2 separate regions of the Homo sapiens genome follow, and region 1 is linked to region 2. The links are contacts of gene promoters, found by promoter capture Hi-C in human tissues and cell types (Jung and others, 2019). All regions are on one chromosome and are shown on one strand. The core of a region is centred on a gene start or on the middle of the fragment in contact, and the rest is flanking DNA. Distances in the headings are between cores, read along the strand shown. Region 1 has its middle 87 kb from the start of CEP120. Region 2 holds the start of PPIC (peptidylprolyl isomerase C).

Region 1 (7,156 bases), core at 428-2,927, 300 kb after region 2:
TTTTTAGTGAGTTTCTTAATACTGAGTTCTAATTTGATTGCACTGTGTTCTGAGACACTGTTTGTTATGATTTCTCTTCTTTTGCATTTGCTGAGGAGTGTTTGACTTCCAGTTATGTGGCCAATTTTAGAATAAGTGCAATGTGGTGTTGAGAAGAATGTATATTCTGTTGATTTGGGGTGGAGAGTTCTGTAGATGTCTATCAGGTCTGCTTGGCCCAGAGCTGAGTTCAAGTCCTGGATATCCTTGTTAATTTTCCAATATTGACAGAAATATTGGGGTGTTAAAGTCTCCCATTATTATTGTGTGGGAGTCTAAGTCTCTTTGTAGGTATCTAAGAACTTGCTTTATGAATCTGGGTTCTCCTGTAATAGGTGCATATATATTTAGGATAGTTAGCTGTTCTTGTTACATTGATCCCTTTTACCATTCTGTAATGCCCCTTTTTGTCTCTTTTGATCTTTGTTGGTTTAAAGTCTGTTTTATCAAAGACTAGGATTTCAACATCCCCCCCTTTTTTTTCTTTCCATTTGCTTGGTAACTTTTCCTCCATCCCTTTATTTTGAGCCTATGTGTGTCTTTGCATGTGAGATGGGTCTCCTGAGTACAGCACACCCATGGGACTTGACTATTTATCCAATTTGCCAGTCTGTTTCTTTTAATTGGGGGCATTTAGTGCAGGTACATTTAAGGTTAATATTATTATTTGATCATGTCATCATGATGCTAGCTGGTTATTTTGCCTGTTAGTTGATTCAGTTTCTTCATAGTGTCAATGGTCTTTACAATTTGGTATGTTTTTGCAGTTGTTGGTACCAGTTGTTCCTTTCCATGTTTAGTGCTTCCTTCAGGAGCTCTTGTAAGGCAGGCCTGGTGGTGACAAAATCTCTCAGCGTTTGCTTGTCTGTAAAGGATTTTGTTTCTCCTTTGCCTATGAAGCTTAGTTTGGCTGGATATGAAATTCTGGGTAAATTCTTCCCTTAAGAATGTTGAATATTGGCCCCACTCTCTTCTGGCTTGCAGGGTTTCTGCAGAGAGATCTGCTGTTAGTCTAATAGGCTTCCCTTTGTGGATAACCTGACTTTTCTCTCTGGCTACCCTTAACATTTTTTCCTTCATTTCAACCTTGGTGAATCTGATGTTTATGTGTCTTGGGGTTGCTCTTCTCGAGGAGTATCTTTGTGTTGTTCTCTGTATTTCCTGAATTTGAATGTTGGCCTGTCTTGCTAGGTTGGGAAAGTTCTCCTGGATAATATCCTGAAGAGTGTTTTCCACCTTTGTTCCATTTTCCCCATCACTTTCAGGTACACCAATCAAACATAGGTTTGGTCTTTTCACACAGTCACATATTTCTTGGAGGCTTTGGTTCATTCCTTTTCATTCTGTTTTTTCTAACCTTCTCTTCCTGCTTTATTTCATTAAGATGATCCTCAATCTCTGATATCCTTTCTTCTGCTTGATCGATTTGGCTATTGATGCTTGTGTATGCTTCATGATGTCCTCGTGCTGTGTTTTTCAGCTCTATCAGGTCATTTATATTCTTCTCTAAACTGGTTATTCTAGTTAGCAATTCATCTAACCTTTTTTCAAATTTCTTAGCTTTCTTGCTTTTGGTTAGAACATGCTTCTTTAGCTTGAAGGAGTTTGTTATTACCCACCTTCTGAAGCCTACTCTGTCACTTCATCAAACTCATTCTCCATCCAGTTTTATTCTCTTGCTGGAGAGGAGTTGTGATCTTTTGGAGAAGAGACTTTCTGGTTTTGGGAATTTTTAGCATTTTTGTGCTGGTTTCTCCCCATCTTCATGGATTTATCTCCAAAGATTTATCAAATACCAAAGTCTTTGATGTGGTGACCTTTGGATTGGGTTTTGTTGTGAATGTCCTTTTTGTTGATGTTGATGCTATTCCTGTTTGTTAGTTTTCCTTCTACCAGTCAGGCCCCTCTGCTGCAGGTCTGCTGGAGTTTGCTGGAGGTCCACTCCAGACCCTGTTTGCCTGGGTATCACCAGTGGAGGCTGCAGAACAGCAAAGATTGCTGCCTGTTCCTTCCTCTGGAAGCTTTGTCCCAGAGGGGCACCTGCCAGATGCCAGCCAGAGCTCTCCTGTATGAGGTGTTTGTCAACCCCTGCTGGGAGGTGTCTCCCAGTCAGGATTCACGGGGGTCAGGGACCCACTTGAGGAGGCAGTCTGTCCCTTAGAAGAGCCCAAGAACTGTGCTGGCAGCTCTGCTGCTCTCTTCAGAGCTGTCAGGCAGGAACATTTAAGTCTGCTGAAGCTGCACCCACAGCCGCCCCTTCCCCTAGGTGCTCTGTCCCAGGGAGATGAGAGTTTGATCTATAAGCCCTGAGTGGGGCTGCTACCTTTCTTTCAGAGATGCCCTGCCCAGAGAGGAGGAATCTAGAGAGGCAGTCTGGCTACAGCGGCTTTGCCAGGCTGTGATGGGCTCTGCCCAGTTCAAACTTCCTGGTGGCTTTATTTATAACGTGTGGGGAAAACCACCTACTCAAGCCCCAGAAATGGCGGACACCTCTCCCCCCACCAAGCTGGAGCATCTCAGGTCAACTTTAGACTGCTGTGCTGGCAGCGAGAATTTCAAACCAGTGGATCTTATCTTGCTGGTCTCTGTGGGGGTGGGATCCACTGAGCTAGACCACTTGGCTCCCTGGCTTTAGCCCCCTTTCCAGGGGAGTGAACAGTTCTGTCTTGCTGACATTCCAGACACCACTGGGGTATGAAAAGGAACTCCAGCAGCTAGCGCGGTGTCTGCCCAAATGGCCGCCCGGTTTTGTGCTTGAAACCCAGGGCCCTGGTGGCATAGGCACCACAGAGAATCTGCTGGTCTGAGGGTTGTGAAGACCATGGAAAAAGCATAGTATCTGGGCTGGAATGCACTGTTCCTCACAGCACAGTCCCTCATGGCTTCCTTTGGCTAGGGGAGGGAGTTCCCCGATCCCTTGCACTGCCTAGGTGAGGCAACACCCCACCCTGCTTCTGCTCACCCTCTGTGGGCTATAGACACTGTCTAATCAGTCCCAATGGGATGAGCCAGGTACCTCAGTTGGAAATGCAGAAATCACCCGCCTTCTGCATTGATCTCACTGGGAACTGCAGACCAGAGCTGTCTCTATTTGGCCATCTTACCAGCCACCCTCTACTCAATATTTTTAGAATTTAATATTTTCGACGGACTAATATATGCTCATTTTTTCTGAATATTTCAAGTAATCTTGTAAAGGTTGATTTTCTGTTCTCTGATTATAGAATGCATATCTGCAAATTATGCCTTTTAATAATATTTAGTGCCAGGTGTGGTGGCTCACACCTGTAATCCCAGCACTTTGGGAGGCTTAGACGGGTGGATCACCTGAGGTCAGGAGTTCGAGACCAGCCTGACCAACATGGTGAAACCCCATCTTAACTAAAGAATACAAAAATAAGCCAGGCATGGTGGCGGGTGCCCATAATCCCAGCTACTTGGGAGGCTGAGGCAGGAGAATCATTTGAACTCGGGAGGCGGAGGTTGCAGTGAGTTGAGATCGTGCCATTTTACTCCAGCCTGGGTGACAGAGCAAGACTCTGTCTCAAAATAATAATAATAATAATAATATTTAGGTCTTCTATGTTCTTATTTTTTTCTCACTCCCTTAATGCAGTGAAGGAAAGAAGCCTGCAAACACAGAGAATCAGAAGCAAGAGCATACAGAGAGGGTCCTCATGGTATTAATCTCAATACCATTTCCACCATTCTTCATTACTGCCATCGTTTTTACATGGCAATTATTTTCTATTTGGTGCTTAGCGATTTCAAAATGGATTTCTGTCACTTACAATAAGAGCATTGATTATGACAATATTCCAGTTCACTAATATTTTCCCTAGCTTTAGTACTTGCTAATCTGTATTTTCTCTTTCCTTCGATAATTTGTTCTTTTCCTTTTGAATTAAATATAATTTCGCAAAGCGCCTCAAATTACCTGTGAAAGGAAGCAAGCTATAAACCTGAACATAATATCAAATAACTCCAAATATAATACTTTTTCCCCTCTGCTGCAGCTGCCTGTCATGGTAGTCTGTGATATATAGAAAAGGTAACTCAGTTTCTGTAGTCTTTGATTCAACATTCAAAGGAGGCTGTGATACATTTTTTAAAGGTTTACTTTTAAAATGGTTAAAATAAGCAGTTTCCAATGGAGTAAATACTAAGCCTCAGTTATCTGGAAAATCTACTTATGTGGAAAAGTACATGCTGGGCGTGGTGGCAGGTGCCTATAGTCCCAGCTACTCCAGAGGCAGGAGAATGGCGTGAACCTGGGAGGTGGAGCTTGCAGTGAGCCGAGATCACACCGCTGCACTCCAGCCTGGGCAACAGAGTGAGACTCTGTCTCAAAAAAATACATGCATACATACATACATACATACATACATACATACATACATACATACATACATACAAAAAGACAACCAAGGGTGGGTTGGCAGCTGTTATTTTAGTACTGGTATTTTTAAAAAATTCAACATCTTTATTTAGGTTTAATTGCCATAAGATAAATACGTGCCACAAAATAGTAAGTGGCACATATTTAAAGTATGCATTTTGAAAATTTTGACATGCATAAACCTGTAAAACTATCACCTGAATCAAAATAATAAACCTATCCATTACCCCTAAAGTTTCCTCATGCCACTTTATAATTCCTCCATCTTGTTCATTTCCTTACCCAGCATCCCAATGGGAAACAACCACTGATCTGCTTTCTGTCACTATAGATTAATTTTCACTTTCTAGAACTTTCTATAAATGGAAGCATACATAATGTACTTTTTGTTGGGCTTCTTTCATTCTGTGTAATTATCCTGAAATTCCTCTATGTTGTTGCATGTTATCAGTAACTCATTTTTATTGAAGAGTAGTATTTAATTGTATGGATATGTCATAGTTCACCCATTCATCTGTTGAAGAACATTTGATTTCTTTTTTAGCTACAAAGCTTTTATGAACATTCATGTACAATTCTTTGTGTGGATGTATGCTTTATTTCCTGAGTAAATACCTAGGAGTCCATGGTCAGTCTATGCAGTCCATTTAATTTTAGCCATTTTAATAGCTGTGTAGCAGTGTCTCATTGTGGTTTTAACTTGCATTTTCCTAATCAGTAAGGATGTTGAGCTTCTTTTCCTGTACTGACTGGGTATCCGTATACGTTTTGTAGTGAAGCATTTATGTAAATGATTTATCTTTTTAAAAATTGAGCTGTTTTCTTATTGACGCTCAAAAATTCTTTATGTATTCTGGATATAAATCCTGTATCAGATATATGATTTGCAAATATTTTCTTCTAAGCATGCCTGGTTTTTTCATTCTCTAATCAGTGTCTTTGAAGTGCAGAGTTCTTAATTTTGATGAAGTTCTATTTATCAGTTTGTTCCTTTATGGATTGTGCTTTTGGTGTCACATGAAAGAAATCTTTGTCTAACTTAAAGCCACAAAGGCTTTCTTCTAGAGGTTTTATAACTTTAGCTTTTACATTTATACCTATGAACTATTTTGAATTAACTTGTGTATACAGAGTGTAGTTGGGATCAAAGTTTAGTTTTTTACTTATGGACATCCAATTTTTCCAGAAGTATTTGTCAAAATGACCATCCTTTCTCCACTGAATTGCCTTTGCACTTTTGTTGAAAATCAGCTGTCTGTGTATGTGTAGTCTTGATTACTGTAGCTTTATAAATCTTGAAATCAGGTAGTATTAGCCTTGCCACTTCTTCTTTCTGAAAGAAAAACAAAATGGGAAGAGTAACACTACCTGATTTCAAGACTTATAAAGATATTCTAGGTGTTTTGTGTTTCAATAGAAATTTTAGAATCAGTTTCTCAATTTTTACAAAAAAGTATGCTGGGATTTTGATAGGGATTACAAAATGACACCCTTAACAACACTGACTGTTCTGACATATAAATATGGCATGTCTCTCTAGTTACTTCAGTCTTCTTTAATTTCTCTCAATAATGTTTTATAGTTTTCAGTGCATAGGTCTTTCACATTTTTGTTATATTTATTCCTAAATACTGCATATTTTTATGGTATTGTTACTGTGTGAGACTAATATAGAGAACTACGACTGATTTTTGGTTATTATTCATATTGACCTTGTATTCTGCAACCTTGCTAAATCTACTTATTAGTTCTAGAAACTTTGTAGATTCCATTGGATTTTTTGAGACAGTCAATCATGTCATCTGTGAACAAGGATAGTTTTGACTCCTATCTTTGCAATCTAGATGCCTTTAGTTTCTTTTTTCTTCTTTATTTCAATAGTTATGAACTTCCAATACACTATTGAATAGAGCAGATGTTCTTGTTTCTGTTCCTGATCTTTGAAGGAAAGCATCTCCCTTTCACCATTAAGTGGGAATTAGCTGTAGGTTGTTCATAGATGTCCTTTATCAGATTGAGGAAGTTCCTCTACATTTACTGGGGAGTTTTTTTGTTTGTTTGTTTGTTTGTTTATGAGGAATGGATACCAATATCCATTTGGTATCCATTTGTCAAATGCTTTTTCTTACTGACCATTAATATCACTTGTCTTAGTCTGTTTGGCCTGTTATAACAAAATGCAAAAGGCCGAGTAGCTTATAAATAACAGAAATTTATTTCTTATAGTTCTAGAGGCTAAGAAATCCAAGATCAAGGTGCTGACAGACCCGGTATCTGGTGAAGGTCCACTGTCTGGTGCATAGATGGTCCCTGATAGCCATGTCCTCACATGGTAGAAGAATGAAGGCAGCTTTCTGGGTCCTCTTTTATAAGGTCACAAATCCCATTAATGGGGACCCCACCTTTATGATATAATCACCTCCCAAAGGCCCCACCTCCTAATATCATCACATTGGTAATTAGGTTTCAACAAATGAACTTTGAGGGACACAAGCATTCAGACCACAGTATCACTTGTACCCCAAATGTCAAAAATGTTATGTTCCATAGAGTGCATTGGACCCTGTGGATTTTAAGGGTACCTTAGAGTCCAACTGAGTTTGCATATACTCACTCCCTCATCCTTTGCTAGCCAACTTTCTTGGAGCACAGGCCTAGAAATAGATTGGGGTGTTCTAGTCTCCTCAATAGGCTTACCTCTGAAGTTCCCTTATGACT
Region 2 (6,212 bases), core at 37-2,536:
ATCAGCCCCGCCCACAACGTGGCACGGCCTTTCTGCGACATCAGATGCTGAGCTGGACCTCCTCCTCCCCACCCCCTAGTCCTCCCCGTCCTCAGGTGGCGTCTGCGGTCGAGGATGTAAGCATTCTACTCGTTGATTAGTATCGTTTCCATTGACAAACCCCAGACTGATGAAGACCACTTTCAGCTGCAGCCCGCCCCCTCCAGCTTCAGCTTCGAAGACACTATTGCCAGTGGGTTTTCTAGAAGTGGTGATCATGGGCACCAAATTATCCCCTCCCTCTCCCTGCATTCTCCCATTATCGTCTACCCTTGGTTAAATACGCTGAAAAAAGAACTGAAGCGGAGTTAAGTACGAGGAAGCCTTAAAGACGCACTTTCTGGCAGCCCCCCGCCCCCTTTCCCCGCAGTGGAGGCTGCCCCAGGTCTACAGGTGCCGCCTTCGCCCGGCCTCGCGTAGCCCACAGCAGGGGCCGCCCGCCCGCCGAAGTTGAAGGCGCACCTCCCCTTCCCGGGAAGGACGACGGTTCCCCAAAAGAGGCGGAGGGTAGTCTCTCATCTGAACCAGGCGCTTTAATGCCTGCCTGAAGCCACCGCGGCCAGCGTGGAGACCACGCAGCGGGCGGGCGGCTGCAAGCCCTGGGCTCCGAGCGCCTCTCCTGTGCGGGTCCCGCCCCCCTCCCCGCATTCCTCTCGTTCTGCTCCCGAGCCCAGGCCACGCTGAAGGAAGTACTTGGGCAGTCTCTTTCCTGGAGAACGGGCCCGCCGGTTCCGGAAGCCTCTCCTACCCCCAGGCTGGTCACCTCGGACTACCGACCCGGGACAAGAAGTCCAAGCAGACTGCGGCGGAGGTAGGCTGGCCTCAGCCCAGCTCCCCCAGGGTCTCCCCCGGAGCGCCGGCCTCCCAGCACGCGAGCAGCCCCCTCCCACCCAGTCCCGCGGCCGCCTCCAGTCCCCCTGCGCCCGGGAAGCCTCCACCTCGCCCGCCCTGACACCGAGGTCCCAGTATCCAAAGCGCCCCCAGGGCCCCGCCCGCAACAGGGGAAGTTGCAGCCCGCCGCTCTCGGTCACCTTGGCCGTCACCGAGGGGCCTCGCTTGCGGAAGCCCTCGGCCCCCGAAGAAAACACAAGTGCGCCGAGCCCCACGCAAAGCACGAGAGGTAGCAGCAGCCGAGGACCCGGGCCCATGGTGAGCGGTGGCAGCGGCGCTACCGGCACGGGCGCTACCGGCACGGGCGCGACACAGGCTCTGGGACAGCTGACGGGACTGCCGGCCGGCTGCGCCTGCGCGCTCCCGGTTGCGGGGGATGGGGATCGGGCAGTCCGGGAAGGGCGGGGACCCGGGGCGCGTTCCTCCCAAGTTCAGACTCGCGACCCGAACTTGGGATTCGGAGGAGCGCGCCCACAGGGCGCAGCCAGGGCTCGACCGCCGCGCCTTAGGCGGGTGCGGAGGGCGCCAGGGACGGGAGGGAGCCCGGGTTGCCCAGGCGCGGAGCCGGGCGCAGCGGGCTAGGCTGGGAGCACCTCCAGGAATTTACCGCGTAGGCGCGGATTAAACTTGGACGGGAAGACCAGGACTCTCGGGCTTCCGCGTCCGCCCGGCAGCTAGCGCTCCGCGGGACTGGGAACTCTGCAGCCGGTCCCGGTGTGATTGCTGCCGCCTTGGGAGCAGCCTCCGCCGCGGCCGCCGAGTTCCAATGGCCCATTGGAACCTTTTGCTAGGTTTTGGACGCTTAGCAGAACTTTGACATCGCTGGAGGCGTGGAGCCCTGTTGCACTCGAATAATGGCCTCTCTTTGAGATGATTCACGTCTAGGGAACACTGGAAAATGCTGGATTCACAGTGCCCCTTTGCCTTCGAAAAACTTTTACATTGGCTTTAAGTACTTTATTTGGAGGATGATTCTGTGATCTTATCTACACTGTTCACAAGGCAGCACTTACACAGGCCCAGAACCATGGTCATGTAGGATTCTTTCCTGGGGAAACAAAGTAAATAAACTGACTTTTAGGTGTATCTGTAGGATGGATTTTTTACAAACTTAAGAATTATGTTTAGGAAGATTAATGACTGGGGAAGTAAGTTCTTATTATATTTTTAAATGGAAAATTCGGGTTGCAAAACCACAAATTCTGATCTCAACCGTGAAAATAAATATATCAAGGCACTTAAATATTGAAAGAGATGTACCACAACGTTTACAGTAGCTATAGATAGAATTGATAGCTATTGATAGACTTATGGATTTTTGAGGGTTTAAAAAAATTTTTTTTACAGTTTTCTGATTTCCCAGATGTTCTACAATGAGCATATAAGTATTTTATAACATGGAAAGGGTTATTTTAAAACTCATTGCTTTTTGAATTAGAATTTCAAAAGAACTTTTTTGTTTTAGAGTAACAGCCCTAAAATTAACTAAAAATTAGTGGTATTCGCACATAGGTGCCATTTTAAGGGGCTGGTGCCATTACTTTCAAGCCAAGATTTTCCTCGGATTAAGAGATGGAATTTCTAAATGTCAGATGGGATTCCTAGGTGTACCTAAGTGTAGATCTAAAATGACATTGGAACCATTAGAGATAAAAGGAGTAACCACTACTTCTTTGGGGTGAGAAAAAGGAGAAATGCAATTCTGAGCTATTTTTATGATTCAGTCCAGTGAAAGACCTAATGGCTTTCCTCTTCATCCCCACCCCCAATAAGGAAAGAGTCCCCCTTGTGTAGCAAGACAAGGGTATCTCTCAGAGCACTTACCCTACGAGGTGACTGTGAGGTGATTGTATATATTTATCTGTGTTCATTAATTGTTTTTGTCTGTCTGCTATCAGAAGTAAGCAGGGCCAGGGCAGGGATCAGGCCTATATTTATTCCCCTTTGATGACCCAGATCTAGTGCAATGCCTGATATATAGTGATTTCTCAATAACTATTTGTTGAATGAATGAATGTGTCCAACTACTTTTTATGCTACCACCATCTCACCCTCTAGGCAAAGAAATGAAATCTTTCCCAGCTCCCTAGAAACTCCTCTTATACCCTCTGCCAGTTACAAACACTTTTTTCTGCCCAAATTAACTGCAATCCTGACTTTTCTTGTACTATAGTTTAATTTTGTTTTAATTTTATTTGAATAGGGTATTACCGTATGTATTTCTTTTTGCTTAAATTTTTGTGAAATTCATCTATATTTTTGCATATAACTATTTTGGTGGCTAATACAAAGTAGGAAGCAAATTCATTTTTTTCATAAGAATATTCATTTATTTCAGTACAGTTTATTGAAAATTCTCCCCTTTAACTCACCGCTCCATACTGTTCTTCTGTCACAGAGCAAGTGCCCATGTATGCATAGGTGTGTTTGTGGGCACCCTATCTGTCCCATTGGCCTATTTGTCTGTCTTTGTGCCAATACTACATTGTCTTCATTAAAATAGCTTTATAATAACTCTTCATATTCAGTAATACATACCCTCTTAGCTTTGTTCAACAAATTCTTGGCTGTTCTTGAGCTTTTCCATGTCCATATAACTTGAGAATCAGCCTGTCAGTTTCCACACACTGAGATTTTGATGGGGATTGCACTGCATCTGTAGACCATTTAAGACTTGGCAAATTTACAATATTGAGTCTTCTAATTCATGAACATAGCATATTTAAGTCTTCTTTGGTTTCTCTCAATAAGATTTTATAGCTTTCTGCCCAGAGGTCTTACACGTATTTTATTAGTTTGATTTCTAAGTGTTTTTTTATGCTATTGTCATGTATTGTAGTAAAATTAATTTATATATTAACTTTGTATATACCAACCTTGTTAAACATATTCTAATAATTTATCTGTGAATTGTTTAGGATTTTCTCCATAGACAATTATGTCATCCATGAATAATGACAGTTTTATTTCTTCTTTTCTAATCTTTACATTTTGTATTTCTTTTTTGGCCTTTTTACACTGGCTGGGATCTGCAGTACAAAAGGAAGTGGCAACAGTGGGAGTCCTTGTATTGTAGACTGAATTATCCTCCAAAAAGATATATTGAAGTCCTAAACCTTGGTATCTGTGAATGTGACCTTATTTGGACTGCCTTTGCAGACGTAATCAAGTTAAGATGAAATCATACTGGAGTAGGGTTTGCCCTACTCTAATATGACTTGTGTCCTCATAAAAAGGGAACAGACACAGACACACGCACAGAGAACACCATATGAGGATGGAGGCAGAGATTGGAGTGCTGTATCTACAAGACAAGGGATGCCAAAGATTGCTGGCAACCCCCAGAAGCTAGGAAGAGGCAAGGAAGGATTTGCCCCTAGAGCCTTCAAAGACAGCATGGCCTTGCCAACACCTTGATCTCAGCTGCTAGTTTCCAGAACTGTGAGACAATGCATTTCTCTTGTTTGAAGTCACCCAGTTTGTGGCACTTTGTTACAGCAGCCCTAGGGGGCTCATACACCTTGTCTTGGTCCCAGTGTCAGAGGGAAAGCTTCAGTGTTTCACCATTAGGCATGATATTTGCTGAAGGTCCTTTTGGGGGATATCTTTTTTCAGATTCAGAAAATTCCTTTCTAGTCCTTGTTTGCTAAGAGTTTTTAGCATATATTTGATTTAAATTTTATTAACATCATCTATTGAAATCAATTGAAATAATTATGTGATTCTCTTACTCTGTTAATGTGATGAATTGCATTGATTTTCAAATCTTAACCCAAGCTTACATTCTGGAATGTGTCCAACATGGATTATCCTTTTTATATATTACTAGATGTGGTTTGGCAATATCAGTTTATTAACAAAGTTGCCAAAAACTGAATATAGACTATCTTCTGAAGTTCAGGAAGAAAAGAGTGGGTAAAATGTGGCTCTGGCTGTCCAGCTGAGACTGAGTTCGTCACCCACATGTCATTTCAGTGTTAGTGGGTAAATCTGCTAATCTTATTTTCAGGATATTTGCATCTAAATTCTTGAATGAGACTAGCCTGAAATTTTCCTTTATTGGAGTTTCCTCTCAGCTTTTGTATTAGAGTTGTTCTGGCCTCTTAATATGAGTTGGCAAATGGTAGCTGTTTTTCCCCTACTCTTAAAGGGTTTGTGTAAGATTACCATTTCTTCCTTGAATGTTTCTTAGAAGCCATCTGAGCCTGGAGTTTTCTTTATTGTAACATTCTAAATTATATATTTAACTTTTAAAATAGTTGGAGATTATTCAAATTCTCTATTCTGTTCCTTTACTTGAAGTATTTTTCAAGGAATATATCCATTTTATTTATATTTTAAAATATTGTTTTATAAAGTTGTTTAAAACATTTTTTAATGATTTTGTAGGTCTGCGGGACCTGTAGTAATGTCTTCTTTTTCATTCCTGACATTGGTTGTTTCTTTTCTTGTTTTCCTTGAACAGTTTCACCAAGGAAGCTGATGAATCCAATATATTTTATCTTATTAATTTATGTTCTAACTTTATTATTTCCTTCTCTCTGCTTTCTTTGAGTTTAATTTACTGTTATTTTTCTGTCTTCTTGGATAGACTCTTAACTCATCAATTTTTAAAGCCCTTCCTTTTTTTATATAGTACTCTGTATACAGTTAAAATGATAAAGTTCCCCTTGCACTTCTTGAACGTTTTGATATGTCATATTTTCATTATTCTTTGAAAATAATTTCTAACTTATATTTTTATTTCTTTTTTGACCCATGTGTTATATAAAGGTATAGTACTTTATTTCCAAACATGATTTTTAAAAAATCCTTTTGTTAGTGATTTCTAACTTAGTTGTATTGTGGTCAGAGAACATATTCTGTATTATTTCATTCTTTTAAAATATGTAGAGACTTGCATTATCACATAGGATCTGAACAATTTATTTGATTCTGCCCTCGTTAGATATAGTATTCTACATATGTGTTCATTAGATCAATTCATATCTCTATCCTTACTTTTATCTGCTTGTTATAAGAGTTACTGAGAGAAGTGTGTTAAAAATCAATTTCATCATTGACTCTAGTTTGTTTATTTCTCCTTGTAGGTCTGTAAATTTTTTCTTTATATGTTTCTTTATATATTTTTGAGACCCTATTGAATGCAAACACATCTAAAATTATCTTTTGATTAATTAAATTATCTTATCATTATGTAGTATCATTCTTTATTTCTAATAATGTGTTTTGCCTTAAAGTCTGATATTAATTCTCCGTCTACTGGATTGGTCCATTATATG

Evidence for each region. The method cuts DNA at HindIII sites, captures the fragments that hold promoters and counts their contacts. A contact is called where the count stands out against the background at its distance.
Region 1: a fragment that was not itself captured here is called in contact with the fragment with the promoter of PPIC in region 2 in 2 of the 25 tissues and cell types used here (spleen and stomach).

What each region holds. Positions count from the first base shown.
Region 1 is chr5:123,332,660-123,339,815 of GRCh38, forward strand. No RefSeq gene overlaps it. Among named protein-coding and RNA genes, the nearest start is that of CEP120, 87 kb to the right of the region's middle. The HindIII fragment of the contact is 3,696 bases long and covers 1-3,525 here.
Region 2 is chr5:123,035,439-123,041,650 of GRCh38, forward strand. It overlaps PPIC (peptidylprolyl isomerase C), which reads right to left and starts at 1,287. Exons shown (of 5, transcript NM_000943.5): 1 at 1,071-1,287. The coding sequence starts at 1,187. PPIC-AS1 (PPIC antisense RNA 1) reads left to right here and starts at 484. Exons shown (of 2, transcript XR_001742868.2): 1 at 484-850. RefSeq lists silencers at 1-155, 1,464-1,513. The HindIII fragment of the contact is 11,652 bases long and covers 1-6,212 here.